7 separate regions of the Homo sapiens genome follow, and all the other regions are linked to region 3. The links are contacts of gene promoters, found by promoter capture Hi-C in blood cells and fetal thymus (Javierre and others, 2016). All regions are on one chromosome and are shown on one strand. Each heading gives the region's core, a stretch centred on a gene start or on the middle of the fragment in contact. The rest is flanking DNA. Distances are from core to core; before and after follow the strand shown.

Region 1 (4,025 bases), core at 306-2,805, 1.8 Mb before region 3:
ATATAGGTCAAAGATGTATGGCACAGTGAAATGCTACAACCTAACAAGCCACAACAGAGGATCGAGTCATTAATTATGCGACAGCTATCAACAAGTCAACCAAGCCAAGAGGAAGCATCACAACAGATATTAATGTATCAACATAGAAAGATGCTGTAGGCAGAAAAACAGTAGATGATGAATGTGGTCTTGAAAAGGTTTTAAAATGCATTAACAAATTGAACCCTCATTCAAGCCTTCTTTAACTTGTACTTAGACATATTCTATCTGATCCATACACAGAAGTTGGAAATACTTTCTCACTTTGCAAAATGCAATTGTTCTTCTGAAAACTAAGACAGTTTCATTTAAATCAATATGATTTTGGTTTTTTGTGTTTTTTTTTTTAACAAAGGCTCTAATATGTAAAGATTTCTCTGGTTTTTGTTTGTTTGTTTGTTTGTTTTTTGAGACAGGTTTTGTGCTCTGTCTCCCAGGCTGGAGTGCAGTGGCGCGATCTCGGCTCACTGAAGCCTTGGCCTCCTAGGTTCAAGCAATTCTGCCTCAGTCTCCCAAGTAGCTGAGACTACAGGCACGCACCACTACGCTAGGCTAATTTTTTATTTTTGATAAAGACGGGGTTTCACCATGTTGGCCAGGCTGGTCTCAAACTCCTGGCCTCAAGTGATCCACCCACCTCAGCCTCCCAAGGTGCTGGGATTACAGGCGTGAGCTGCCAGGCCTGGCCCTAATATGTGAAGATTTCTTAAAGAGGTTTTACAACCAAGCTTTATATAACTTTCGCTTTCACTACCTATAAAATGAGGGAGATGGCCTAAATCATGATCAATAGCCCTAAATCACTACTGTTTCTCCTCCTAGTATCGATGTTTCCATTTATAGCTGCCAGACACTTAACCCAGAAACATACTGCTACAAAAGAAATATTTTAAGTATAAGCACTTCCTGAAAAAAACAAAATTTGGAGACATCAGCAAATGCTCACCTCACTCAAGACTCAAAAGGGAAACACAAGCCACAGTTCTGAAATCCAAAGAACATTTTACATGTACAGCAACTGGCAAAGCTATTCAGAAGCCTGAGAGGCCCCTCTTGAAATGACAAAACTAAGCTTTCACCCAGTAAATTCAAGTGGAAAACAACCAAATTTCTATTCGTAGAAAAACAGTTATAAATTATGGCACATCCAAACTACTGAATTCTGTAAAATGTAAGGCACTTATCCATATAAGGCACTTACCTCTGTGTCTAGTACAAATTAGATTCTCAAAATAATTACTGTCATTAACATTATAATTTCCAGATTCTCAGAATCTGGCACCTTTCTTGGTTCTACTATAGTATTCATATGCCAGCATTTCCAAACCTACTTTACTATGGATCCTTTCTCCACATACCTATCTACATGGCATTTGTTTCATGGAGTACATTTTGGGGAATGCCTCTCTATCTCAGACACAAGCTTCATGCATTGTCCATTGACCACCATTTGTCCAGGGCTGATCTCCCCCAAAAAATTGTGTGCTCCTTGAAAGCATGGACCGGTGTTGGCACATATTAGGTACTAAGTAAATGTCTGTAGAATAAATAACAACAAATGAAAGAAGGGGTTTGGTGCAAATGACTCTGAGGATCCCCTGAAGCTTTAAAGCCCAGGTTCTATCATTTATACTGGAACCAAAGGGTCTAAACTCCCAAATTTCACACTGCTAACCTTGAGGACTAACAGAAATCAATGAAAACCACCTGAGGGACTCCTAAGTGTTCCAAGTATGCAGACCACAGCCCATGGGCTCTCTAGGCTGGCTCGAGTTTAACCTTACTTCATTTTCAACACAGACCAATATACATCAAATGTGGCTCACAGTGGCCAGGCCCAGTGGCTCACACCATAATCCTAGCACTTTGGGAGGCCCAGGCGGGTGGATGGCCTGAGCCCAGGAGTTCAAGAGCAGCCTGGGCAACATGGTGGAACCCTAACTCTACAAAAAAATACAAAAAATTGACCAGGATTGGTGGCATGTGTCTGTGGTCCCTGCTACTAGGGAGGTTGAGGTGGGAGGACCACCTGAACCCAGGAAGTTGAGGCTGTAGAGAGCCATGATTGTGCCACTCCACCCCAGCCTGGGTGACACAGTGAGATCCTATCTCAAAAAAAAAGAGTAGTTTAATAGTCAAACATGTAAAATGACCCAGATACAATTCAAGGATCAGGAGACCTCATTTACAGACTACTCAAAAGCTGGTTTGTAAGGCCTCCACCCACTTTCTAGCTTGAAGAATGAGTCACAGCATGTGCCCTCTGGGGACACCCAGGAATTTGTAGGGCAAAGGTGACAATCTTTCCCCAAGGTGCCAGCCTAACTTCACTCTAATGTAAACAGGCATTTCTGAGGTTTCACAGGGGCTCAGGAACAAAGCATCCACTGCCCTGGATGTTCTCTGGCTCCAGCAAACCCTGGCACACCAGGCAAAAGGCTTCTTTCAGGCAGAGGAAACAAACAAGGCTTAAGAAAAGTGAGAGTGGATGGCATGGCCCTGAGAGATGAAAGCGCCTCTGTTTAGTTTACTGAATTCTGCCTAGAGAGCTGCAGGAAGGCAGGATTTTTCTTAGCAGAGGAGTGAGAAATTCTGCAACCAGGTCAATTTTTCAGCAAAAGAGGTGCCAGGAATAGTAGTAGGATAAAGTATACATGGAAGCTGAGCCTGGGGTGGGTGGCCCAGGTCCCCTGCCCCACTCTTCTCAACTCAATGATCAACAATTCCGGCCCCCAGTTTGTCAAGAGTACTTAACGCACGGTTGTTCAACGTTATGCCAGTTTGCTACTGAACTCAAATTTGCTGACAAAATACACGTGTGCAAGTTCCTAATATTTTCTCCCCGCTACCCTCAACCGATGTCATTTCTGTGACTCAGAACCTTAACTAAAACTCAAAGCTGTGTGACACTGAGGAAACTGTGTTATGTCCCTGGGCCTCAGACCCCTCATCTGGACAAGGAAGGGATCGAGCAACCTTCAACACACTGCCTTCCAGCTATACCACTCCAGGAAGTACAAAAGAGGGCAGGTGGAAATGCAGAAGGATTTGTGCACCCTGGTAAGTCCTTCTCCACTCCCTGGTGCAATGATTGTGAAACTATTCTCACCCACACACAGGTAACTTCCAGTAGGAGATCACGAGCAGACAGAGCTGCCCTTTGTAAACAATAAATCACTGATTTTGCAAGGGGTTAAAAAAACAACAAAAAAAAAGGAGCTTCCAGCAGGGCGCAGTGGCTCACGCCTGTAATCCTAGCACTTTAGGAGGCCGAGGAGGGCGGATCACCTGAGGTCAGGAGTTTGAGACCAGCCTGACCTACATGGCAAAACCCCATCTCTACTAAAGATACAAAAAAATTGCCAGGCATGGTGGTGAGCGCCTGTAGTCCCAGCTACTCGGGAGGTTGAGGCAGGAGAATTGCTTGAACCCGAAGGCAGAGGTTGCAGTAAGCCGAGACTGCACCATTGTACTCCAGCCTGGGCAAGACAGCAAGACTCTATCTCAAAACAAAAAAAAAAAAAAAAGAAGAAGGAGCTTCCTTCACGACAAACTCAGAGATTGTAAGGAGAAAATGAGAACCAGAGCACCAGGTTGAAGCCCAAAAGGTGACAAGGAGAAGCTAGTCCTGGGTGATCCCCTCCATGGCCAGCCAGGTACCTGAGCTTTCAAGGTTTCCTCTTTCTGGGCAGAGGCATCTGATATACCAAGGGATTTTACTCAGCAATTCTAAACAAGCAGGTCCAAGTATGGCAAAAGTTTTCAAAAAGGGACTAATTGTTCTCCGGGATTATGTCAGTGTTCTATTACTACTGTAACAAATTACCACAAATTGAGTGGCTTGAAATAATAGCCATTTATCCGATCACAGTTCCATATATTGGAAATCCAGCATGCATCTCAACAGGCTCCAATCAAGGTGTCACAGGTGTGAGTCCATTACTGGGGGCTCTGGGAAAGAACTGATATCCACACTTATTCAGGTT
Region 2 (4,337 bases), core at 94-2,593, 1.6 Mb before region 3:
ATTCTGTACCATTTAATGCTTCTGAATTGTTTCTTTTTATCTTGCTGTCTAAAAGAGGTTAATAGCATACAAAAATGAAATAATAAAATATAAAATGATTTCAAAGGTACATGTGTACCTTGTAAAATCTGCTATGTGTAATTGGGACATGTCTTGGGAATTTTTCATGGTAAATCATGTTAAAGTAGAGTTTTAACATTTATGTTTTTTAAAGATTGACTTGGACAAGGCTACTGCAGCATTCATTTTGGAAGAAAGCTTTTGCTGGAGCAGATCAGGAATCAAGCGTCGAAGATCTCAGTCTCAGGTAGTATACACTTACCTTTGTGTATGGGACATAGTTACTGGACACTTAAGCCCATTACTGTTCTAAATATACAACATCAATGACTGGAATTTCTCTGCTTTCGTAGTAGGAGAAAATCCAGCGTTTGTTTAATTAAGGGTTGCTTGAGGAGTTTACTCATGATATTTTTATGTTCTTGATTTTGCATATTTTCTGTTGTTATTCTTCAGTCATTGATATAATATGATAGTCATTAGTTCTGTTACCAAATACATCTGGCTTCCCACCTCCCAAGTAAATGGTAGGATCTTTTTTCTCCTCTTTATGTTAGGTGTGGTCATGTGACTTGTTTCTGGTAACAAAATGTTAGTAAAAGCAATGTGTGTTATTCCCAGATGCAAAGTTGAAGAGCAGTGGTAATTTACTACATGATGAGGTAATTGGGAAGAAAAATGTCAAAATGGAGTTCCAACCTGGATTTTTTTTTTTTTTTTTTTTTGAGACAACGTCTCACTCTGTCACCTAGGCAGGAGTGTAGTGGTACAATCATGGTGCATTGCAGCCTTGACCTCCCTGGGCTCAGGTGATCCTCCTACCTCAGATTCCTGGGTAGCTGAGACTATAGGTGTGTGCCACTACACTCAGCTATTTATTGTATTTTTAGTAGAGACAGGGTTTCACCATGTTGCCCAGGCTGGTTTCAAACTCCTGGCCTCAAGCGATTTGCCCGCTGTGGCCTCCCAAAGTGTTAGGATTATAGGCGTGAGCCACCATGCCTGGTCTGTCAGCCTGGATCTTTTTTTTTTTTAAATTAAAAAAAATTGTTAAAAACAAAAAAGTAGAGACAAGGTCTCACTATGTTGCCCAGGCTGGTCTCAAACTCCTGAGTTCAAGTGATCCGTCTGCCTCGGCCTCCCAAAGTGCGGGGATTACAGGTGTGTACCACCACGCCTGGCCTTAGCCTGGATCTTGAGGGACTACAGTGACGTAGCTTTCCTGCCGGTCTTTGATGGCTATGTGGATGAGGGAGGCATAAAGTTAAGAGATTCTGTAACTTTGCTAAATGTCATGTGTAATTTAATTATCTTCTCCAACCTCTTTTTCTCTAACATAAAACTATAGAGAACTCCAAAGTAAGTTTGATTGTGTTGGTTTTCTCCAATAATAGCAGAAACACTATGGAGTGTTCTGGGCCACAAGATTCCAAGGAGCTTTTGCAGAACTCTCAGAGTAGACAAGCAAAAGGGCACAAGAGTGGTCAACCACTAGGTCACTCTTTCAGACTAGGTAAGTTTTATTTGAGCACATTCATGCTACTTAGAATGTTGTTTGAGAGAGTTCCTAATTTCAGTGTTATGTCCCTTTAAATCTTTGTGTACGTTATGCCTTGCATATGATATTTTTGTTCTTTTCTGGATAACATATTACTTTCCTGCTACAGAAAATCCAACTGAGTTTCGGCCTAAGAGTACTCTTGAGGGTCAATTGAATGAATCCATGTTTCTTCTCAGGTAGGTAAAATGAAAAAAGAGGGATCAGTGCAAGACAAAAGTTAAATTTTCTTAAAGCATCTGCTATCTTGGTGCAAACTTTGTTACACAGAGATAAAGAACAGGAATTTTAGTGCCAAATGCCAGTTTCACTCTCCAATTTCAAAGTTACAGTTAGGTCGTGGCCAGTGAAATGTAGATTTTGCTATGTACAGGATTTTTGAAAATTTTTAACCAAACCAACTTATTTTTTTACCAAAGCAACTCATTATTTCCATTTGTAAGAATTAATGCCTCTTCATTTTGTTCTTTAACTTAAAATAGAATTGAACTTAAAATTTCAGAAGTCCAGCTTGTTTGGTTTGTTTTGTTTTTGAGACAAGATCTCCGTCTATTGCCCAGGCTGGAGTGCAGTGGCGTGATTTTGGTTCATTGTAACCTCTGCCTCCTGGATTCAAGTGATCTTGCCACTTTAGCCTCTCAAGTAGCTATGACTACAGGTGTGTGCCACCATGCCTGGCTAATTTTTTTGTAGAGATGGTGTTTTGCCGTGTTGCTCAGGCTGGTCTCAAACTCCTGGGTTTGAGCCATCTGCCTGCCAATGCACCCAGTTTTTGTTGTTGTTGTTAATGCTTTGAAGGCAAAAGCTTCTTTATTTGGATAAATACTTACAGAAAAGAAGAGGTTCTGTTTTTCTTTAAATACTTTTTTATTCTTTCATTTATTTTTATTTTATTTTTTTGAGATGGAGTCTTGTTCTGTTGTCCAGGCTAGAGTGCAGTGGTGCGATCTTGGCTCACTGCAGCCTCCACCTCCCAGGTTCAGGCAATTCTCCTGCCTCAGCCTCCCGAGAGTAGCTGGGACTACAGGGGCCCACCACCTCGCCTGGCTAATTTTTGTATTTTTAGTAGAGACAGGATTTTGCCATGTTGGCCAGGCTTGTCTTGAACTCCTGACCTTAGGTGATCCACCAGGCCTCCCAGAGTGCTGCGATTACACACATGAGCCACAGTGCCCAGCCTTTCTTTTAATACTTTTCTATATGTGAGGCTTGAATAATGTTTGTAATCACTGAAAGAATTAAAGTCAGAGTGGTATCTTAAAGTAATTAGGACCAATGCATTAAAAAATTTTGTAGTATGGACCGGGCTCAGTAGCTCACGCCTGTAATCCCAGCACTTTGGGAGGCCAAGGCAGGCGGATCACCTGAGGTCAGGAGACTGAGACAAGCCTGGACAACATGGCGAAAACCCGTCTCTGCTAAGAAAAAAAAATTAGCTGGACGTGCTGGTGGGTGTCTGTAATCCCAGCTACTTAGGAGGCTGAGGCAGGAGGATCACTTGAACCCGGGTGGTGGAGGTTGCAATGAGCTGAGATCGCGCCATCGCGCTCCAGCCTGGGGGACAAGAGCGAAACACCGTCTCAAAAAAAAAAATTTAGTAGTATGTAAATATTTAAAGTATTTAAAATATTTTTTAACGTAGAGAAATAGTTTTATTTCATGAAATAGTGGTTATAATGATAAAATTCCTGATATGTTTTACCCATATTTAAATGTAATGTATGTTTATCTATATACATTTTACACATTTTATTTATTATTTATTTATTTATATATTTTTTGAGACAGACTCTTGCTCTGTCGCCCAGGCTGGAGTGCAGTGGCATGATCTCGGCCTACTGCAGCCTCCACCTCCCTGGTTCAAGCGATTCTCATGTCTCAGCCTCCCAAGTGGTTGGGATTACAGGCCTGTGCCACCAAGCTTGGCTAATTTTTTTTTGTATTTTTAGTAGAGATGGAGTTTCTCCGAGTTGCCCAGCTGGCCTCGAACTCCTGAGCTCAGGTGATCTGCCTGTCTTGGCCTCTCAAAGTGCTGAGAATTACAGGCATGAGCCACAGTGCCTGCCCCATTTTATACATTTTAAATTTAACTTTTTAGAACCTCCTAGATTTTCTGGTATATTGTATTTTATGTGCTATGTAAGTATATGTTTAATGAGGGGATCAACAGATAAGTGAATGAGAGTTGAGGATCCTGATACTTGGGAATTTGAAGATGATAATTTTTTTTTTCTTGAGATGGAGTCTTGCTCTGTTGCCCAGGCTGGAATGCAGTGGTGCGGTCTTTGCTCACTGCAACCTTCACCTACACTGTTTAAGCTATTCTTCTGCCTCAGCCTCCCAAGTAGCTGGGACTACAGGCATGCACCACCATGCTGGGCTAATTTTTTTTTTTTTTTTTTTGAGATGGAGTGTTGCTTTGTCACCCAGGCTGGAGTGCAGTGGCTTGAACTTGGCTCACTGCAATCTCCACCTCCTGAGTTCAAGTGATCCTCCTGCCTCAGCCTCCCAAGTAGCTGGGATTACAGGTGCCTGCTACCATGCCTGGCTAATTTTTGTATTTTTAGTAGGGATGGGGTTTTGCCATATTGGCCAGACTGGTCTCAAACTCCTGACCTCAAGTGATCTGACCACCTCGGCCTCCCAAAGTGCTGGGATTACAGGAGTAAGCCACCGCACTCGGCCCTGAAGGAAATAATTAAAAAATATTAATGATCTG
Region 3 (4,110 bases), core at 34-2,533:
GTCTTTCTGCCGTTCCGTTGCTGGATTCTTATATGAATGTAATCCTCAGTCCCTGCCGGGAGTAAGTCGTCACCCTTAGTTGCATCAGCAAAGGGGTCTGCGAATGGATAAAAAAAAAAAAAAAATCCAAAGTAGAAAAATATTTTTTAAGAAGTACTTTCCAGAAATACATTATACTACCAATCCAGACAGTCATCAATGAAGGTTCTAGTGCCTTTGCTGTTTTTGCCGGTAGGAATGGAGATGGGGGTGGAGTATTAATAAAACCCCCAAGATACTCTCACAAAAAGAGAAACATTTGAACAGCTATGTCCATTGTAGAAAAACGCTGTTATAGATAAATAATGTTATCGTTCAATATGGTCCTCTAATGAGAAAAAGATTTAGAAAACCTTAATATTGTAGCCGCTATAAAAATGTGCGTCATCTCGATTACATTCTGATGAAAACATAAACATTCGAATACGCCCACCTTAATCATTTAACCGTAACTGTGCCTTGCCAAAAAAAAAGTAGATTACATATATATCAAGAGGCGTAATTTAACAAATTGCTACGCAAGCAGAGAAGACTGAACCACTGGCCAGTGACAGATCAGAGGCTTGCATCCGCATCTTTCCCTAAGTGCCCCCAGGAGCTGCCAGAGAACGGGCGCCGATCCCTGGTTTCCCTGGCCCGGCATACCCTTTGCAAGTAGCAGGGCCGATCTAGGAGTCCACGAAATAGGATCGCCAAGGTTTCAAGGGGCAGAAGCGGAGGCGAGAGCCGGGTCAAGGACGGGGCAGGGGGTGGCGCAGGGCCCGCGGCCGGGGCTCCGAGAGGAGGGCTCGGAGTCCGGCGCTGTCCTCGGGGAAGGGGTCGCCAGGGGCCCCGTCGCCATTTTCTGGGCGCCGAGACAAAGCCCCACTAGGGGTGCGGGAAGGGCAGAAAGGGGGCCCCTAGGGGCGGTGGCCAGGCGGGCAAAAGGCCGAGATGCGCGCCGGGCAAGGGAGGGAGGCGGCGGCGACGGGATCTTACCGAAAGATTGGAGGTTCTGGATAGTGGACATGCGATACTAGTGTGAGGCCGGTGAGGGGATAAAATTCCTGCGGGGCCCGCCCGGATCACCTTGTCAGGAGGCTGTAGTGGCGAGAAAACGGAAATAAATAAGAAAACGCTTCGCCCTGGGGTTGGGATTAGGCTGGAGTGGCGGCGGCGGAAGCCGGGAGGAGGCAGGAAGAGGCGAAGGAGGAGGCGGAGGAAGAGGCGAGGGCGCGAGAGAAGAGGCGGCGCTGCGGCTTCTCGCACAAAATGGCCGATGGAGACTATTTAGCCGCGCCCGCGGCCCCTCCCACGTGACCGTCCCGCGCCGAGCATCCTGGGACTTGTAGTTTTCTGGAGGCAGCAGAGCCCGGAAAGCCTGAGGCCGGGGGCGGCCGAGACCGCAATTCCCGTCACGGAGTGCGTCCTCTAGCGCGGGGCGGAAGACCCGCGAAGTGTTCAAGCGGCCGCAGAGCGGCCCAGAGTTCGCAGGTCTGGGGCTCTCTTCCCAGAGAGCTCGTAGGGGAGGACAGTCAAGGGACTCAAGCGTCTCTCTTGACTCCCCTTCTCTCGCTGTGCAGTGGCGGCGCCGAGGGGTCGACGCTCAGGGCTAATCTCTATGAGTCACCCTCGAGGCCCCGGGTAATGTAAGTAAAATCGGGGTGCAGGAACAAAACAAGTCCCCTTGCTCCGGCTTTCAACTCATTGGCCCCCGCTCAGCAACTACCTGCATTGAAATTCCAACCCCAGTTGCAGGAGCGGTGTTAGTCTCAACCAATACTGGAGATGGGAGCCTCTCTTTCCAGGATTGGACGGACCTCCGATTCCCTAGCACGGTGGATCTCAGACTAAAGCGTGTGTCTCTGGAGGGCTTGAGAAAACACTGATAGACCCCAGAGTTTCTGTTTCAGGAAGTCTAGGGTGTGACCTGAAAATCTGCAATTCTCATAAGCTCCTTGGTGATGCTGATCCTGCCTGCTGGTCTGGGATCAGGCTTGAGAATCACTGCCCAGCTTAATCCTGGGCCTGGCATCGAGTGGGGGCCAGGTGTGTATGAACAGAAGATACCAGAAAATCAGCTTGTCAGCTCATTTTGTGTGCCTCAGAAGGCCCAACAGAGAATTCAGGAAAGATGCCAGGTATAAGCTGAAGGTGAGCTCAGCAAATAGGTTAATTGATGGAGTCATGTACCAGACCGTAATATCTTCCTATCAGGTCACGCACAGAAAAATAAACCCGAGACTTTGGGAATTGGCTCACTCAGGCAGGTGTGTTCAATTGTCAAACTTGGTTGGCTTTCTGGAAGCAAAGAGATAGACTAAAATTTAGGGATTCTTAACTTTTTTGTGTGTGCCATGGCAATCCTGTGAAGCTGCTGAATCCCTTCTCAGAATAATGAGAAGTTAAGTTTTAAGTTCACAAAGTACATAGGATTACAAAGGAAACCAATTATATTGAAATTTAAAAAATACATTAATAACGTGTATTTCTTTATTAATACACTAATAAGATCTAGCAAGATTAGGTCTAATACTATAATTTCAAAAAGCTGATAAATGTAAGAGATATTTTGTGATGTCCGTAACATCAGAAATTTAATATGAAAGTATGTGTAACTTCTGTTGGTGCGAAGTGACAGGTCCTTCTATCACTATGATGTTGCCTTTATTCATAATGGAAAGAAATGGTAAATTTTGCTTAGAGGTTAATGAAAATGCAGATATAATCTTTCCCCATCCAATTTTAGGGATCTCCACCCCTGCAGTTTTATCCATGAGCCAAGGATCTGCAGACCGCAGGTTAAGAATACCTGGATTTGACAATCTTTTGTAATTAACAATGATGATAAGTGCCATTTATTTAGTACTTACTGTTTGCCTGTTACAAAGCTTATATATAACATTATTAATCTTCATAGCTATTTTATAAGGTAAGCATTACTCTATGCACCAGGTGTGGAAATGAAGGCTTTTGTAGGTTAATGCCTGAAAAAAAAATCAAATTCTTAACTCTCAGAAATCTAACCACATTTGTGGTCTTCCAGCTCTGGTTCAAATGGAAAACACTCTTCGTATCCCAAATTGAGGTGTAAAGTTTAGAGCTGGCTCCAAAACAAGGAGCATCAAAATATCTAAATAAGTGTGCTTTAAAGTAATTTTATTAGTTCAATTTTGTGCCCTATGTTAATACTCTAACACTCTAATTTCTAAATAATTTGTAATCTAGATAATGCATCTCTATTTGTTTCCTTTCTTTCTTAGTAGATGTACATGAGTATTTTATATTACTTTATTTCTCAGAAGAAGCCAAAGGTGATCCAGTGAAGAAAAAACTACAAACACAGAGAAATTAAAAGAAAAATTCCAGAAATCTTAGGGTTTCATGGTCATTACCCCTGTCAGGAGAACTCACTTTTCTTAGATTTAGTGTTTGCATCAGAAACCTTCAGGAGTGAGAAAAAAAAAAAAAAAGAAAGAAAAAAGAAACCCCCAGGAGCTCAGAAATCTTTAATCAAAGCCAATATGAATACAGATTAGATACAGTTGTGGTTCTTAAGGCTCTTCTAACTCTCATGATTCATAGTCTTTGTGTTTAGACCTGCAGTGTCCAGTACAGAAACCACTAGCCACATGTGGCCATTGAGTACTTGCAGTATAGCTGATTTAAATTGGGATGTGATGTAAGTAGAAGATATACAGTAGGCTTCCAAAGACTAAATTGTCTTAATTTCACCTATTTCGTTTTACCTTTTTAATGTAGCTACTAAAGACTTAAAATTACATGTGGCTCATGCTCTATTTCTACTAGATAGCACTAGTTTAGAGTGAAAGAATTTGGCCTGTGTGTAAAGTTATCATAAAAAGAATAAACTGAAGCATTTAAAATCTAGCATTTTTAGTTCTAAATGGTACCAGCCTAGGTTAAGGTAATTATTTCTTGTCTTAATTCAGAAAAGCATTTTAGATCACTCACAGAGAACAGTTGTGCTGAGTAAAGGAATTATAGAAGATAATAATTAAAAAGCACCTAAAGCTGAAGGTAGAACCCCAAGTCTGGTTCTAACTTTCTGATAGTTAAGACAAAGAAGAA
Region 4 (4,082 bases), core at 1,190-3,689, 1.7 Mb before region 3:
CCTGTACAAAAACTACCACTGTGCCAGAGGAGTGAAGAGGCAGCAAGCTAACCACGCAATTCAAAACAGGCTCTTGTCAAAAAAATTCTCTAGTATATGATCACCCTGAGACTTACCCACATTTCTTATACTTTCTATGAAATGCTAAGGCTCACTTTTAATCTAAAATAGACAAACTTTCTTCATGTGCCTCTGAGTCCTCTTCTAGTTTCACAAAGGATTAAATAAAAAGGGCCTCAAAGGACAAAAGAAGGAAGTATAGAAAGGAGGGATGGAGGGAGAGACAGGGAGAATGAGAATACAGAAAAATAGAGGAAAGCAAGAAAGAGACAGAGGGAGAAAGATAAACGGAGAAAGAAGAAAGAACAAACAGCAGAGAGAGAAACAAAGAAACAGAGACAGAGGAAGAAAGAAAAGAAAAAAGTTCATGGGAAAAAAATAGTGATGCATTTCATGGAAAAGCTATTTGTTAAAGAGTCCCTCTTTTTTCTGTGTACAGTATCATGCCATATGTGGGAAGTGAACAAGGCTGGAACACCGCCTAAGAACATCTGCCACGGACTTTAAAAGCCCTAATAATAGCACAGCTGGTGTCCCCAGCCTAATGAGCTCACCACCCACGTGACTGCTCCTTCTCCAGCAGATTCTCCAGAGAGAGAAGGCAGCCAGCAAGAGAAGCAGTCCCCGCCCCCGCCCTCCCCCACATTCATGCTTTATTTCCTCCACGGCTTTCATTCTCCCCTTCCAGAAACCACCCCTTCTCATTTTCTTGAGCTAAGTTACCCTGATCCAGCAGTCCTTTGAACAGACACATTCTTCTTTTCTCCTTCCCCTCTCCCTTTGAACAGACACATTCTTAACATGAAAGGCAAATACCAGAAATAAAATATGGGGACATCACTACAGGTCTTATGGACATTGAAAGAGTAATAATTGTGCCAATTAATTCAGTAGCTTAGATAAAGTGGATAAAGCCCTTAAAATACACAACTTATCAAAATTAATGTAAGAAGATATAAATAACCCTATACTTATTTTTAAAATGGAATTCCAAATGAAAAATTTTCTACACCACAACGAAAGGCCAGCGTGCCCCAGCGTGCCTCGTTGCCAGGGTCTGAGGTACAGGCCCCTCCAGGAGTGCTGGTCTGGGAAGTTATGTCTGACAGGAAGACTCTCCCCCTGACCAAGGCATATTGCTAGGAGGAAACCAAGCACAGCAGAAAGCGGGGCAGGGAGGACGTAAACAAAGAAGTTAGGTTTTTACAAGGTTGGCAAGTTTTAACCCCCTCTGGTATAATCTTTTGAAACTAATTCCCATCACGGTATGCTTTTAAAAGCTCTCTAGCATTTTAAGAAACTGCAACTTAGCATCAGGAAGGGAAAGAATTTCAGCTTCTAAGGGGAAGCCTAGCAGAAAGTGACAAGAGGAGACTCACGTTGGCACTGATGTGGTATCCCTAGCAATTGGAAGAGAAGCTGAAAAATCTGGGATCTCTCACTCTCAGTCCAGGGCAACACATCCTGACAGCCAGGAAGAGTCAAATGGCTATGGTAAGACGTATGGGGTTTATTCACCAGAAAAAGACAAAGAACGCCACATTTCAAAACTCAGGCTTGGTAACACAATAGCATGGGTGTGTATGCAAGCATGAAGTACTGAAGCTAACAAATTACTAGATTCTATCCCTGTCTAGCAAGTACTTATTTCAATAGCAATCATATGATTAGCTGAAAGTGGGCAATCATTAACTTCATCTACTGTTAAACAGTTACACACAAAAACATGGTGCTTTATATCTTGTTAATATCATGAATAAGTTATGTAACCCTTGACAGTGTTCTGTTTTGATTTAAAATACCAATGCTATTGCTGCCATAAGTTAAACACTGCAAAATTATAAAACTTCAAAGATAATTACAGCATTTTAAGGACTATCATAAATACTTTTATGCAACTGCGATGTTTACAAGGCTAAGCCAGCATCTCTTCTGAAAAACAAAGAACCAAATGATACAACTAGAAATATCTGCATACCTACTATGTATAAACAAACCCAAAAGATATTTTAGCTTCTATCTCACTTGGCCTCTCACAGCAGAGTAACCCTGTGAACCCTACCCTTCACCAAAAGAACACTCCCTCCCCCAGCAATTCTGGTCTTCTCCCAATCTCTAGTCACTACTCCTCTGTGAGTTCTCCTACACATGGATATCACTACACAGGAATGGTCCCCAAACCCTTGCCTCAAACTCCTATCCCTCTTCGAAGTGTCAGGCCCAGACGTCCCACTGCCCTAAACATCTCCACTTAGAAATCTCAGGAGTAGCCGGTCACGGTGGCTCACGCCTGTAATCCCAGCACTTTGGGGGGCCAAGGAGGGCGAATCACCTGAGGTCAGGAATTCGAGACCAGCCTGGCCAACATGGCGAAACCCCATCCCTACTAAAAATATAAAAATTAGCCAGGCGTGGTGGCAGGCGCCTGTAATCCCCAGATACTCGGGAGGCTGAGGCAGGAGAATTGCTTGAACCCGGGAGACGGAGGCTGCAGTGAGCCAAGACTGTGCCACTGCACTCCAGCCTGGACAATAGAGTGAGATTCCGTCTCAAAAAAAAAAAAAAAAAAAAAAAAAAACCCTCACGAGCACGTCAAACTCAGCACATTCAAAACAAGACCCTCCAGGTCCTCACCGCTGGGACAACTGATTAATGGTGGTCCAACTCAGAAACCTCAGCCTTATCCTTCACTCCGCCCCCTCCCTTACCCTACCACTATCTCTTCAACAACAAAGGCTTATCTCTTAAACATCTACCCACACTATCACTCGCTAACCCCCACCCTCTCTCACCTTGAGTACAGCCAGAGCTTCCAGCTGGGTCTCAGTCATCATGGAGGTAAGATAAGGTCTAGGATCACATACGGCCTAGGACACGTTTACCAAAGTAAAGCCAGCCACCACTCCTAATGCCACCCAACCCTGCCATGGGCCTTCTCTTTGGAACATCTACAGACTGCATCTCTTTTCCGCCCTAGTGACCTAATGTGGATGCAACTTGAGTTTGTGAGGGAAATTCTCAAACTTGCTTGTGATGATCAATCTGCCATGCTGCCTTTTGCCAAACAGAGAATTCAGTATACTATAAAGAACAAAAACTACATTAAAAGATAGCCAAACTCCCAGGAATATTTATTTTCTTTTTGTTGTTTTTTTTTTTTTTTTTGAGATGCAGTCTCGCTCTGTCGCCCAGGCTGGAGTGTAGTGGCGCAATCTCGGCTCACTGCAACCTCTGCCTCCCGTGTTCACGCCATTCTCCTGCCTCAGCCTCCTGAGTAGCTGGGACTACAGGTGCCCACCACCACGTCCAGCTAATTTTTTGTATTTTTAGTGGAGACAGGGTTTCACCGTGTTAGCCAGGATCGTCTCCAACTCCTGACCTCGTGATCCGCCAGCCTCAGCCTCCCAAAGTGCTGGGATTACAGGTGTGAGCCACTGCGCCTGGCCAGGAATATTTATTTTCTTTATTCCTTTCCATGAGTATCACTTCTACTATACCATCAAGAGACTTACCCCAGCTAAAAGTTTTGCAAGTTAACACTCAATTGTTGTGAAAATATTCCTCTTGTACAAAAGTTTTTTGTTTTTGTTTTTTTTTTTTTAAAACAGGGTCTCTTTCCATTGCCTAGGCCGGAGTACAATGGTGTAATCATGGCTCACTGCAACCTCTGCCTCCTGGGCTCAAGCGATCCTTCTGCTTCAACTTCCCAGACAGCTGGGACTACTGGGGCACACCACCATGCCCAGCTAATTTTAGTACGTTTTGTAGAGATGGGGTTTCACCATATTGCCCAGGCTGGTCTCCAACTCTTGGGCTAAAGCAATCCACCCGCCTTGGCCTCCCAAAGTGCTGGCATTACAGGCGTGAGCTGCTACACCCGGCCAGTTATTTAACAAGACTAACTACTTTCCTATCTTTCAAATACAGTATAAAACATCTACTGCAGCAGTCAACGTTTTAGTCTATTTTACCAATGATTTGCCTGTCACACCTTTTATCCACTGCTGTAATAATAACAATCT
Region 5 (3,879 bases), core at 241-2,740, 1.6 Mb before region 3:
TAAAAATATTGGCCAAATCATGGGATGTCATAGAGGTCAAATAACGTCAGTGGTATATGGTGATGAGAGAAACCACTTGTGTGAGATGCTGCTAATAAGGTGAGGACTGAGGATTTGGCAATGGAGAGGCCACTGATAACCTTGAAGAGAGTGGTTTCAGAAAGTGGTGGGGATGAAAGCTGGAACTGAAATATGTTTAAGGGGGAGTGAGCCGGGCTTACTGGCTCATTCCTGTAATCCTGGTGTTTTGGGAGGCTGAGGTGGGAGGATTGCTTGAGGCCAGGAGTTTGAAACCAGCCTGGGCAACATAGCAAGACCCTATCTCTACAAAAATAAATAAGTACACTTCTTATAAAAAGAGGGAGTGGGAGAAGGTAGAGGCCATCCTTAAGGAGTTTTGCTGTATCAAGGAGCAGAGAAATGGGATGATAACTGGATGGAGACAGGAGGTTGAGATGGAAAGAATTATCAGGAGTTACTTCTGACTCCTGACATCTGAAATTACGTTTTTTTAGACAGGATCTCACTCTGTAGCCCAGACTGGAGTACAGTGGCATGATTTCAGCTCACTGCAACCTCCACCTCTTGGATTCAGGCAATTCTCCTGCCTCATCCTCCCGTGAAATTACACGTCTTAAAGCAGGTGGTTTATTTTCTCTCATGTAAAGGAAACTGCACTTGCAAACTGATTCTACCATGTCATCAATTCCCTGTCATTCTTCTCTGCTATCCTTATTGAACTTGGCTTATGTGCAAGGCCATTTCACAGTTGCTGGATGGCCACTGTCACTTTAGTTATCATGTCAGCTTTCCAGGGAGGAAGGGGAAGAAAGAGGGTGCCACGGGGTTACGTTGAATAAACCCCATTAAGTGTTTTCCAGGAAACCTGAGCTACTGACCCTGTTAACATCTTGTTGGTGTCCCCTTTCTGGGCAGGAGGGGCGGAAATCTTTTTCTGGACAGGCACAAGGCTGTTCTGTCATAGAGGAATTCTGTTATTAAAGATTTAGGTAAGCAGCTAGCAGCTTTTCCATAAGGATAATAATTTCAGCATGTTTGTATGCTGATGGAAATGGTCTATTAGCAAGGGAAAAATACTCAGCATAATGTGGCGAGGAGACAGTTGTATAATGTAAGTGAAGTTTGAGGGGGGTTGGGATCATGTATACAAGGGGAGGTTTTGGCTTTTGGAAGGAGCATGGATAGTTGAGGTAAGGCAGGGTATGGTACAAGATGCAAGTTGGTGGATTCCATGCCAGGAGCCTGAGAAAGTTCTCTTCTGTTTGGTTCTATCTTCCCTGAAATAAGCAAAGTCATCAGTTAGGAGGTAGGAGAGGAGAGGAAAGAGGAGGTGTGAATGGTCACTTGAAAAGCAGGTTGTCTTGGGCCATTTGAGATTTGTGATCATAAATTTAAAGTAAATCAGGCAGCATGGTTTGTTTCTGCTTTACCTGCTTGAGTAGCTGCAGAGTATGTGGAGGGTTGGTTGAGTTTAACCAGAATTGGAATGGTTGTGGGAGCGGGCTGGAAAGTGCGTGTATATGGTCACAGGCTAGGATGTGTAACAGAGATTTTGGTGGTAATGCAGTTTTAGTAAAAGTCTAGCAACACCATCTAATAAAAATATAATGGGGGCCACAAATCTAATTTTGAATTTTTTAGTAGCCACATTGAAAAATGAAAAACAAATGGGTGAAATTAACTTTGGTAATATATTTCTTTCTTTTTTTTTTTTTTTTGAGATGGAGTCTCGCTCTGTCGCCCAGGCTGGAGTGCGGTGGCACGATCTTGGCTCACTGCAAGCTCCGCCTGCCGGGTTCACGCCATTCTGCTGCCTCAGCCTCCCGAGTAGCTGGGACTACAGGTGCCCACCACCATGCCCGGCTAATTTTTTGTATTTTTAGTAGAGATGGGGTTTCACCATATTAGCCAGGATGGTCTTGATCTCCTTACCTCGTGATCCACCCGCCTCGGCCTCCCAAAGTGCTGGGATTACAGGCCTGAGCCACCGTGCCCAGCCTAACTTTGGTAATATATTTCTAAAGCCAGTATACACAATGTATGATCACTTCAACATATAATTGGTTAAAACTATTTATTTATTTAATTTAATGAAATTAATTAATTTATTTTTTGAGATGGAGTTTCACTCTTGTTGCCCAGACTGGAGTGCAATGGCACCATCTTGGCTCACTGCAGCCTCACCTCCCGGGTTCAAGCGATTCTCCTGCCTCAGCCTCCTGAGTAGCTGGGGTTACAGGCATGCGCCTCCATGCCCAGCTAATTTTGTAGTTTTAGTAGAGATGGGGTTTCTCCATGTTGGTCAGGCTGGTTTTGAACTCCTGACCTCAGGTGATCCACCTGCCTTGGCCTCCCAAAGTGCTGGCATTACAGGCGTGAGCCACCGCGCCCGGCCTATTTATTTATTTTTTTGAGATGAAGTCTTAATCTGCCACCCAGGCTGGAGTGCAATGGCGTGATCTAGGCTCACTGCAACCTCTGCCTTCTGGGTTCAAGTGATTCTGCTGCCTCAGACCCCTGAGTTCCTGGAATTTCAGGCATGCACCACCATGCCTGCCTAATTTTTGTATTTTTTATAGAGATAGGGTTTCATCATGTTGGCCAGGCTGGTCTTAAACTTCTGACCTCAAGTCATACGCCCACCTTGGCCTCCCAAAGTGTTGGGTTTACAGGTGTTAGCCACTGCACCTGGCTGGTAAAAACTATTATTGAGATATTATTATTTTTTGGTATGAAGTCTTCAGAATACTGTGTGTATTTCACATCTGTAGCACATCCCAGTTCAGACAAGCCACTTTTCGAGTTCTCAGTAGCCCTGTGTGGCACATCGCTCCCACATTGAACACCGCAGGTCTGTGGAGTAACCGTGGATAGGTGGTTGAGGTGAAGGTGGAGGGCAGGACTTTGAGAGGCAGTTTGGCCCAGCATTTGGAAGAGTAGGCGTGGGGCGTATGTTGAATGATGAGGAGTGCTGGAAGGAATTGCTGGGGCCCAGATTCTGTTGGTGATTCTGTTGGAATTGCCATGCTCCCTTTATTTTTCATCAGGACCTCCCCCTTCCTGTGCCTGAATCAGTGGGAGTCCTTAAACATGGTCACCAGGTGGTCTTCCTTATTCTTTGGTGGCTTATTAGTTTTACAGTTTCTTTCTCTTTTTTTTTTTTTTTTTTTTTTTTGAGACAGAGTCTCACTCTGTCACTCAGGCTGGAGTGCAGTGATGTGATCACGGCTCACTGTGCCTTGACTTCCCGGGCTCAATGGATCCTCCTGCCGCAGCCTCCCTAGTAGCTGGGACCACAGGCATGTGCCACCATGCCTGGCTAATTTTTTAATTTTAGTTTTGTAGTTTCTTACAAGTTGCTCCTTAAATTTTCTCTTGGTCGCTCTGCTTTTTGCTTTTTAACTCCTCTGTCGTCTAAGTTATGTGGATCCATTTTCCTCTAATTGTGCTACGGTATGAGCCCACCTAGTTGTTCACAGAGTGTTTCATTTTTAAAATGGGGAGCTCTGCATATATGGGCTCATTTGTTTGTGTTAAGTGGTAGTAGAGTTTGGATGTGACTTTAAAAAAAAAGGTTTTTTTTTTTTTTTTCAAGCTGGGCACAGTGACTCATGCCTGTAATCCCAGCACTTTGGGAGGCTGAGGTGGGAGGATCGTTTGAACCCAGGAGTTCAAGACCAACTTGGGCAACAAAGTGAGACCTTGTCTCTACAAAAAATCAAAAAAGTCAGCCGAATGTAGTGGTGCAAGCCTGTGGTCCCCACTACTCTGGAGGCTGAGAGAGGAGGAGGATCCCTTGAGCCCAGTAGATGAAGGCTGCAGTGAGCCATGACTGTGCCACTGTGCTCCAGCCTGGGT
Region 6 (4,173 bases), core at 630-3,129, 1.8 Mb before region 3:
AGGGATGACTGGGCCTCTCTCTCACGTGGATATAATTTCCACATGGCCACCAGGGCTTCTCACATGCTGGCTGGATCCCAAGAAGGGGTGTTCAAAGTATGAGACAGAAATTACAGATCTCTTTAGACTCAATTTTAAAAGTTACACAGTGTCACTTCTACCGCAAACTATTGGTCAAAATACATCACCGGGCCAACGCAGATTCAAGGGGAAAGGTTACAGACTCTACATCTGGATGGGAGTATGGTAAGAACTTTCAGCCCACCACAGGGCCAGAGAGCAGACAATAAGGCACAGCTGGGCTGCCCCGGCACATATGCTTTTTTCACTGTGTGGCTCCCACCACTTTTTTTTTTTTTTTTGGAGACAGAGTCTCACTCTGTCACCAAGGCTGGAATGCAGTGGCACAATCTCAGCTCACTGCAACCTCTGTCTCCCAGGCTCAAGCAATCATCCCACCTCAGCCTCCCAAGGAGACGGGGCTACAGGCGTGTCCCACCAGGCCTGGCTAGTTTTTGTAATTTTTGTAGAGACAGGGTTTTGCCATGTTGTCTAGGCTGGTCTCAAACTCCTGATCTCAACTGATTTGCCCGCCTCAGCCTCCCAAAGTGCTGGGATTACAGGCACAAGCCACCACACCCAGCCCCACCTTTACAAAAGAGCAAGAACTGCATCACAAAGGCATTCCTGGTTGGGCAGGGGCAGTGGGGAATGTACTGACAGACAAAACCCGGATGCTCCTTCAGCAATGGCTTAGGGCAGGGCTTGGCAAACTTTTCCCGCGAAGCGGAAAATAATAACTATTTCAGGCCTTGAGGGCAATACAGTCTCCGTTGCAATTCCGCAGTTGTAGCTGGAAGGCAGTCAGAAAATATGGAAATGAATGGGTGTGGCTGTATTCCAATAAAACTTTATTTATAACAGCAGGCGGTGGGATGGATTTGACCCATGGTCTGTGAGAATAAGCACTGGATTTGGTACTGGAAAACCAGGCCTGGAATTCTGACTTTACTACTCACTACCAGTGTGACCTTGTTTGAGTTTCTTAAAATTTCTGAAGCACGTCCTCCATATCTCAAAAACAGGGATAATGTCATCCATCTCCTAAGGTGGCTCTGGGGAGTGAGGTAATACAGGTGAAAGTGCAGTGCACATCCCCTCATAAGACAAACACGCCTTCACTGCAGTGCAGAGCCTGGAAAACAGCTCAAGGGGCTGTAGGGAAGTCCCACCAGGCAGGACACAAGGGAGTGTCAGGCACTGTTTTCCAACAAAGTGAAGACTTCACTGATGAGAATTATATTAGGCAGCAGCAGCCTAAATAGTCTTTGTTAAAGACCTATCCTTGTTTTGCTTTTTCTCAACAGCATAATACTTTGTTTTAAGGCATACAGATAGCGCTGACACAACCTATTTCACAAACCCTATTTCACACAGAGTAGCATGCATGGTCAGTGAAAAGGAAAATAAAAACCACCAACATGAAGAAGCCTCAGAGGTGCCAGGACTCAAATACAAAGTTTTTCAGAGGGGTAGCAGTATAGTCATGCTGTATTTAAGCTGGTTTTGTAGATTCTGAAATGTTAAAAAATAGTCTCCAAGACAAGCATATTTTTTAATGCTAAAAGTATAACTGGAATTATTAAACATGTGAATGCAAACTTGATTTTTTTTGAAATTGGCCCTAGTAGGAAAAAAAATATTCAAAATTAAGACCTATCCTTAGCCAAAGGAATCAAAAGCACTGAAGCATTTTGTTTGCACCTCCGCTAATACGGCACTCCTTTATAATACCAGTAGTTCACCAAGAGATTGAGAGTTTCACAAGAGTAACAGGCAGCACTGTACTCCTGCTTTTGGAAAATTCCACTTCATCCACAGGAAAGTGGACATGTTAGAAGGTGAGTGACTTGTCCATTGTCAAAATCTTGTCTGCTGTAGGATTCCTGCCACACATATGAGCAGGATCTCTCTCAGCCATGACTCCTCTTGCAATTTCAATGTCCCCTTCTCCCAAATGGGCAGCCTTAGCCAGAAGCAGCTGTCCCAGAGCCTCCACCCGAGACAGCTGCATTCTGGAGGGATGGCGTCAGCAATAGCCTAGAAGGGCGTGGTTTCCCTCCTGAGCCCCAGAGTGAGTGCCAATGGCTGTCATCATTTGAATTGAATATCCGTTTCCAAAATAACCTGGACCATTTCCAAGGCAAAGTACTACTGAATAAAGCTCAAATCCATGCAGATGGGTAGATGGATGGGCTTGTTGCTCCTGATTCATTAGTTAATAAACTGGTATATATTGTTGGTGTTCTGATTCATAAATTAGATGGGAAAGAAGTGAGATGACTTAGCATAACACAAGCCAAAGTGAACATTCCCAAATTCTCTTGTATTTGTACTTGCACGGAATGGAATTCTCACATGATGGCTGGGATTTCTATATTAAGTGTCTCAGGCCAATCTTCTACTAAATAAAGTTCAAGTGGCACTGGGTTCACATGATATTCAGAGCTCTGTAGCAGCTGATTGTTTTCCCCGTATCTCCTGCTTTGGAACTTCAGCTTCAAAGTAGCTCCTTGCCTGCTTTTGCCATGGCCAGGGTCCACTCTGTATCCAGGAGGTGTAAATATGATGAGCTATGAAAAGGCTGACAGACAACAGGGCTGCCTCCCTGGCACTGTGTGTGTGTGTGTGGGTGTGCGTGGGGGGGTGGGGTGTGCATGGGGGGGTGTGCGTGGGGGAGGTGTGCATGGGGGGGTGCGTGTGTGGGTGGGTGTGTGCATGCACGCATGCACAGATGTAGACACACACCCATCACTTGAAAACTTAAGGTCAATGGTTACGTAAGATGTTAACATTAGAGGAAGCTGGGTCAAGGGTGTATGGGAACTCTGCACACTTTTTGTAACTTTTCTATAAATCTAAAATTATACCATAACAAAGAACTTTTTAAAATGCACTTTTAAGTCAGCTTCCAGGCCTGAAGCATACCATTTAGGTTTTCACAGGGTCCTTCAGCATAAGTCATTAAGTCCCTTGGAGGGTCAGTTTATTTAGCCCTAAATGAACCTGATGAGATCCCCAAAAAACTGCAAAACAAACAAACAACAACAACAAAAAAGGCCGGGCGCGGTGGCTCATGCCTGTAATCCCAGCATTTTAGGCGGCCAAGGTGAGCAGATCAACTGAGGTCAGGAGTTCGAGACCAGCCTGGCCAACATGGCGAAACTCCGTTTCTACTAAAAATATAAAAAAAATCAGCCAGGAGTGGTGGCGGGCACATGCAATCCCAGTTACTCAGGAGGCTGAGGCAGGAGAATGACTTGAACCAGGAAGGCGGAGGTTGCAGTGCGTAGAGATCGCACCACTGCACTCCAGCCTGGACAACAAGAGCAAAACTCCGTCTCAAAAAAAAAAAAAAAAAAAGCAGCCAAAAATGACCTGACAAACAGGTGTGATATTAATATGACAACATTCACATTAAGGCTTGTTCCCAATGACAGACTGAGACTATAAACCAGTGAGACTGCTAAGGGACCACGCCTGGAAAAAGAGGCACTCCTCTACCGTTACATTACTCTCCTGTCCCACAGTTTCAAAGCTGCCCCGTCTCTCCTCCCTGCTCCTCAGAACCCAGAGGTCTTGGTATCTGCTATTCCCTCTACCTGGAATCTCCCTTTACCACCCGCCCTCACCCACCACCACCCCCCACCCCCCACCGTGGTGCTGTAGCCATCTCTGTCTTTTTTCATATCTTAACTGACATCTCAACCCCTCGGCATCCCCTTCCTTTATTTTTCTTCTTAGAAGCTATTCCTTCTGATACACTACAATATACTCATTTGTTTATTTCCCCTCTCTCCCAAATAGAATGTAAGCTCCATGTGGATGGAGCTTTTGTGTGTTTTGTTCACTGCTAACAGGATTTCTTGAAAACCTTCTATGGGCTTTCCCCTGTGAGTCTTATTGACATGGTTCTCTGGAATCATTGGGAAAAAAACAGAATGTTTTTTAAAAAGAAAAGACATTTCTTATGCAGGGGGAAAGAAAGAAGTGATTAATATCAAACAAGCACTTTCAGAATTGCTATGTACCTGTAACACTGTCCTCCATGCTTTATTGTATCATTGTCCACACTAAGTATATTACTTTATATAATCTCACTCATTCCTCAAT
Region 7 (4,405 bases), core at 409-2,908, 1.7 Mb before region 3:
GGCAGGAGAATCGCTTGAACCCGGGAGGCGGAGGCTGCGGTGAGCCAAGATCGCGCCACTGCACTCCAGCCTGGGCGGCAGAGCGAGACTCCGTCTCAAAAAGAAAAGAAAAGAAAAAAAAAAACAATAGAAATAGAAGGGAACTTCCTCAACCCAATACAGTGTATCTATCAAAGACCCACTGCTAATATCAAACTTAACAGTGAAAGATTCAATATTTTGCCCCTATGATCAGGAGGGCATCCACTCTTACGACTCCTATTCAACATCGTACTGGAAATTCTAGCCAGAGCAATTAGAAAAAAAAAAAAAGGGCCCTCATATTGAGGAGGAAGAATTAAAGCTACCACCATTTGTACATGACATTATCTTACAAATAGAAAGTCCTAAGGAACCCGCTAAAAAACTATTAGAACAAATACACAAATTCAGCAAGGTTGCAAGATATAAGATCAACATACCAAATCAGTCGTATTTTTATACACTAGCAATAAACATTCCAAAAATGAAATTAAGAAAATTATTCCATTTATAATAACATCAAAAGGAATAAAATACTTAGGTATAAATTCAACAAAAGAAGTAAAAGATTTGTAAACCTAAAACCACAAACAATGTGGAAAGAAATGAAAAAATGTCTAAATAAATGGGAAAACATCCCATGATCAGGTATTGGAAGGCTTAATATTGTTAAGATGTCAATACTCCTGAAATTGATCTACAGATTCAATGCAACTCCTACCAAAATCCCAGCCGTTTTTTTTTTTTTTTAAGCATAAATTAACTAGCTGGTCTTAAAATTCATGTGGAAATGTAAGGAAACTAGAATAGCCAAAATAATCTTGGGGAAAAAAAAAACAACAACAAAGTTGGAGGACTCACACTGTCTAATTTCAAAACCTACTACACAGTTACAGTAACCAACACAGTGTGGCTGGGCGCAGTGGCTCACACCTCTAATCCAGCACTTTGAGAGGCCAAGGCGGGCAGATCACTTGAGGTCAGGAGTTCGAGATCAACCTGGCCAACATGGTGAAACCCCGTCTCTACTAAAAATACAAAAATTAGCCAGGCATGGTGGTGCACACCTGTAGTCCTAGCTACCCAGGAGGCTGAGGCAGGAGAACTGCTTGAACCTGGGAGGTGGAGGTTGCAGTGAGCCGAGATCCGTGCCACTGCGCTTCTAGCCTGGGTGACAGAGTGAGACTCCGTCTCAAAAAAAAAAAAAAGGTGTAGTACTGGCATAGGATATACAGATCAGTGAACTAGAACTAAGGGCCCAGAAATAAGAGCCCAGATAAATAAACCCTTACATTTATGGTCATTTGATTTTCAATAAGGCAACTCAATATGGAAAGAACAGTCTTTTCAACGAATGGTACTAGTACAATCAGATATCCATATGTAAAACAATAAAGTTGTACCTTCACCTCACAGAACAAAGTTGGACCCCTCCCTCACAAAAATTAACTCAAAATGTATCACAAACCTGAATATAAGAGCTAAAACTATAACATTCTTAGAACAGAAAAGAGTAATAGACCAACTCTGGGCAAAATGCCTATGAGTTAGCCCTGCTCTGCAAGGAGCAGTTATATAATTAATCAATTAATTAATAAATAAATAGTAGCAACTCTTGGTGACCTTAAGGTAGGCAATGATATTTCTTAGATATGACACCAAAAGCACACGTGACCAAAAATAAATAAATAAGACTTCATTAAAATTAAAAATGTTGTGCTGTAAATGATACCATCAAAAAAGTGAAAGACAATCCATGGAAGAAAATATATGCAAATCCTATATCTGATAAAGGACTTGTATCCAGAATATATAAAGAACTCTCACAATTTAAAAAAAAAATAGGCAAAGGACCTGAATAGACATTTCTCCAAAGATATACAAATGGCCAATAAGCACATGAAAAGATGCTCAACATCATCAGCCGTCCTGAAATGCAAAACCACAATGAGATAGCCCTTCATACCCACTAGGATGCCTATAATCAAACATATGAACAGTAACAAATTTTGGCAAGGATCTAGGGAGAATGAAACCATAATACACTGCTGGTGGAAATGTAAAATGGTGCAGACACATAGGAAAACAGTCTGGCAGTCCCTCTATGACCAACAATTTTGTCCTAGATATATACTCTAGCAAAATGAAAACATGTTATACATCCACACAAAAACCTGTACGCAATGTTCACAGCATTATTTATAAGATAATAAATAATAAGTGGTTGGCTGGCACATTGGCTCACGCCTGTAATCCCAACACTTTGGGAGGCCAAAGTGGGAGGATCACTTGAGGTCAGGAGTTTGAGACCAGCCTGGCCAATATGGCGAAACCCTGTCTCTACTAAAAATACAAAAATTAGCTGGGCATGTTGGTGTGCACCTGCAGTCCCAGCTACTTGGAAGGCTGAGGCAGGAGAATCACTTGATCCCAGGAGGCGGAAGTTGCAGTAAGCTGAGATCACGCCATTGCACTCCAGCCTGGGTGACAGAACGAGACTCCATTTCAAGAAATAAATAAATAATAAGTGGAAACAACCCAAACATCCATCAACTAACTGATGAATGGAAAATAAAATGTGGTATATCCATATGACAGATTAATATTTGGAAATAAACAGAAATGAAGAATTGCTACATGCTACAACATGGGCAACACTTAAAAACACTATGCCAAGTGAAAGAAGCCAAACACAAAAGACCACATATTATATGATTCCGTTTACATGAAATGTCCAAAATAGGCATATCCAGGGACAGAAAACAGATTAGAGATTGCTTAGGGCTGGGAAATGGAGGGAGGGAGGATTGACTATTGACTGCTAATGAGAATGGGATTATGTTTTACGTGGGATAAAATGTTCTAAAATAATATTGTGATCACAGTTGTACAACCCTATGGTATATTAAAAATCACTAATTGGATGAACTGTAAGGTATATGAATTAATCTCAAGGCTGATTTTTAAAAAATCAATCCCAACACTTCGGGAGGCCAAGGCAGGAAGACTGCTTGAGTCCAGGAGTTTGAGACCAACCTGGGCAACATAGGGAGACTGTCTCTACCAAAAAAAAAAAAAAAAAAAACTTTTTTTTTTTTTTTGAGATGAAGTCTCACTCTGTCACCCAGGCTGGCGTGCAATGGCGCAATCTCACCTCACTGCAACCTCTGCCTCCCGGATTCAAGCAATTCTCCTGCCTCAGCCTCCCAAGTAGCTGGGATTACAGGCGCCCGCCACCACGCCCGGCAAATTCTTTTGTATTTTTAGTAGAGATGGGATTTCACCATGTTGGCCAGGCTGGTCTCGAACTCCTGAGCTCAGGTGATCCACCCGCCTTGGCCTCCCAAAGTGCTGGGATTACAGGCGCGAGCCACTGTGCCTGGCCGCTACAAAAAATTTTTAAAAATAACCGGCCAGGTGTTGTGGCACACACCTGTGGTCCCAGCTGAGGTGGGAGGATCACTTGAGCCAGAGAGGTTGAGGTTACAGTAAGCTGTGATCACACCACTGCACTCCAACCTGGACAACGGAGTGAGAACCTGCCTCAAAAAAACACCAATATCTCCTTGCTATTTTGGGCTAGAGAAATTCAATTCAATTCAGTATTCCTGACCCTATCCCAACACCCTTGCACCTAGAAAAGAGATGAATTTAAAAGATTTTAAAGCCACCACCATGCTGTAAACTTCTGGGACGTCTCTGACCCACTGCCTCCCTTTCCATTTGAGGTCCTGCATTAGAGAAGGCAACTGACCTCTCTGAGCCAAATCTCTATCAGGCAAGTGGCTGACAATGTTATAATCCTGTCTTTCACTTAAACATGGTCCAGCAGCTTCAGGGTAGCATCCCTTTGAATGACCTCTCAAGAATCTAGGACTGATGGTATCTTTTAAACATCACACCACACACAACTCATATCAGGAAAAAGGAGAGGCTATCTGGACTCGAACCCCTCACCCAGCCACCTGACCTCTAATGGATTTCCCAGGCTCCACTCCGGGGTCACTGGAAGGATGGAACACTATACTGCTATCATCCACACAAACACTCACTAAATGTTATTTGTTGTCATCATTAAGAAAGGAGAGGCATATGACTAAACCTGCTCTTAGAGACAGAAAGACATGATTCCAATTTTGCTCCAGTTGTTTCCTCTAGCACACACTCTCCAGACACAGGTCACGAGACTTCCTCCACCTGGGTACCTTTTCTTTAGCCCTTGGCAAGTTCTCCCAAACTCCTGGCTAAGCCAAAGCTCTTATGTTAGTCATCTGAGAACAGTGGTCTCTGCCACAGAAACTGTCAGAGTTACAATTTGACATTTGTTTGTGAAATTGCATTAATGTCTGTCTATAGTACCAGACTGTAAACACCATGACAGTTT

Evidence for each region. The method cuts DNA at HindIII sites, captures the fragments that hold promoters and counts their contacts. A CHiCAGO score of 5 or more calls a contact.
Region 1: a fragment that was not itself captured here is called in contact with the fragment with the promoter of EIF1B in region 3 in 11 of 17 cell types (total CD8 T cells, total B cells, total CD4 T cells and 8 more); the score reaches 17.2 in total CD8 T cells.
Region 2: a contact is called between a fragment that was not itself captured here and the fragment with the promoter of EIF1B in region 3, in 1 of 17 cell types (activated CD4 T cells). The highest score is 8.7, in activated CD4 T cells.
Region 4: a fragment that was not itself captured here is called in contact with the fragment with the promoter of EIF1B in region 3 in 8 of 17 cell types (neutrophils, total CD8 T cells, activated CD4 T cells and 5 more); the score reaches 11.4 in neutrophils.
Region 5: a contact is called between a fragment that was not itself captured here and the fragment with the promoter of EIF1B in region 3, in 7 of 17 cell types (naive CD4 T cells, total CD8 T cells, activated CD4 T cells and 4 more). The highest score is 8.2, in naive CD4 T cells.
Region 6: a fragment that was not itself captured here is called in contact with the fragment with the promoter of EIF1B in region 3 in 1 of 17 cell types (total B cells); the score reaches 6.5 in total B cells.
Region 7: a fragment that was not itself captured here is called in contact with the fragment with the promoter of EIF1B in region 3 in 1 of 17 cell types (neutrophils); the score reaches 5.0 in neutrophils.

The regions. Positions count from the first base shown.
Region 1 is chr3:42,079,019-42,083,043 of GRCh38, reverse strand. It overlaps a transcript of TRAK1 not described here. Among named protein-coding and RNA genes, the nearest start is that of TRAK1, 10 kb to the left of the region's middle. The HindIII fragment of the contact is 181 bases long and covers 1,465-1,645 here.
Region 2 is chr3:41,908,777-41,913,113 of GRCh38, reverse strand. ULK4 (unc-51 like kinase 4) reads left to right here. Exons shown (of 37, transcript NM_017886.4): 9 at 215-307; 10 at 1,455-1,573; 11 at 1,728-1,797. Among named protein-coding and RNA genes, the nearest start is that of ULK4, 51 kb to the left of the region's middle. The HindIII fragment of the contact is 2,165 bases long and covers 261-2,425 here.
Region 3 is chr3:40,306,880-40,310,989 of GRCh38, reverse strand. EIF1B (eukaryotic translation initiation factor 1B) reads right to left here and starts at 1,283. Exons shown (of 4, transcript NM_005875.3): 1 at 1,018-1,283; 2 at 1-97. The coding sequence starts at 1,048. EIF1B-AS1 (EIF1B antisense RNA 1) reads left to right here and starts at 1,292. Exons shown (of 3, transcript NR_033965.1): 1 at 1,292-1,667. LOC124906228 (a long non-coding RNA gene) reads left to right here and starts at 2,179. Exons shown (of 2, transcript XR_007095876.1): 1 at 2,179-4,110. RefSeq lists a silencer at 873-922 and an enhancer at 1,193-1,552. The HindIII fragment of the contact is 2,965 bases long and covers 1-2,911 here.
Region 4 is chr3:42,022,301-42,026,382 of GRCh38, reverse strand. It overlaps a transcript of TRAK1 not described here. Among named protein-coding and RNA genes, the nearest start is that of ULK4, 62 kb to the right of the region's middle. RefSeq lists an enhancer at 1,127-2,045. The HindIII fragment of the contact is 5,804 bases long and covers 1-4,082 here.
Region 5 is chr3:41,941,073-41,944,951 of GRCh38, reverse strand. All of the region lies in intron 2 of ULK4 (unc-51 like kinase 4), which reads left to right. Among named protein-coding and RNA genes, the nearest start is that of ULK4, 19 kb to the left of the region's middle. The HindIII fragment of the contact is 6,777 bases long and covers 1-3,879 here.
Region 6 is chr3:42,059,876-42,064,048 of GRCh38, reverse strand. It overlaps a transcript of TRAK1 not described here. Among named protein-coding and RNA genes, the nearest start is that of TRAK1, 29 kb to the left of the region's middle. RefSeq lists a silencer at 2,047-2,266. The HindIII fragment of the contact is 5,018 bases long and covers 1-4,173 here.
Region 7 is chr3:42,037,505-42,041,909 of GRCh38, reverse strand. It overlaps a transcript of TRAK1 not described here. Among named protein-coding and RNA genes, the nearest start is that of TRAK1, 52 kb to the left of the region's middle. The HindIII fragment of the contact is 5,750 bases long and covers 1-4,405 here.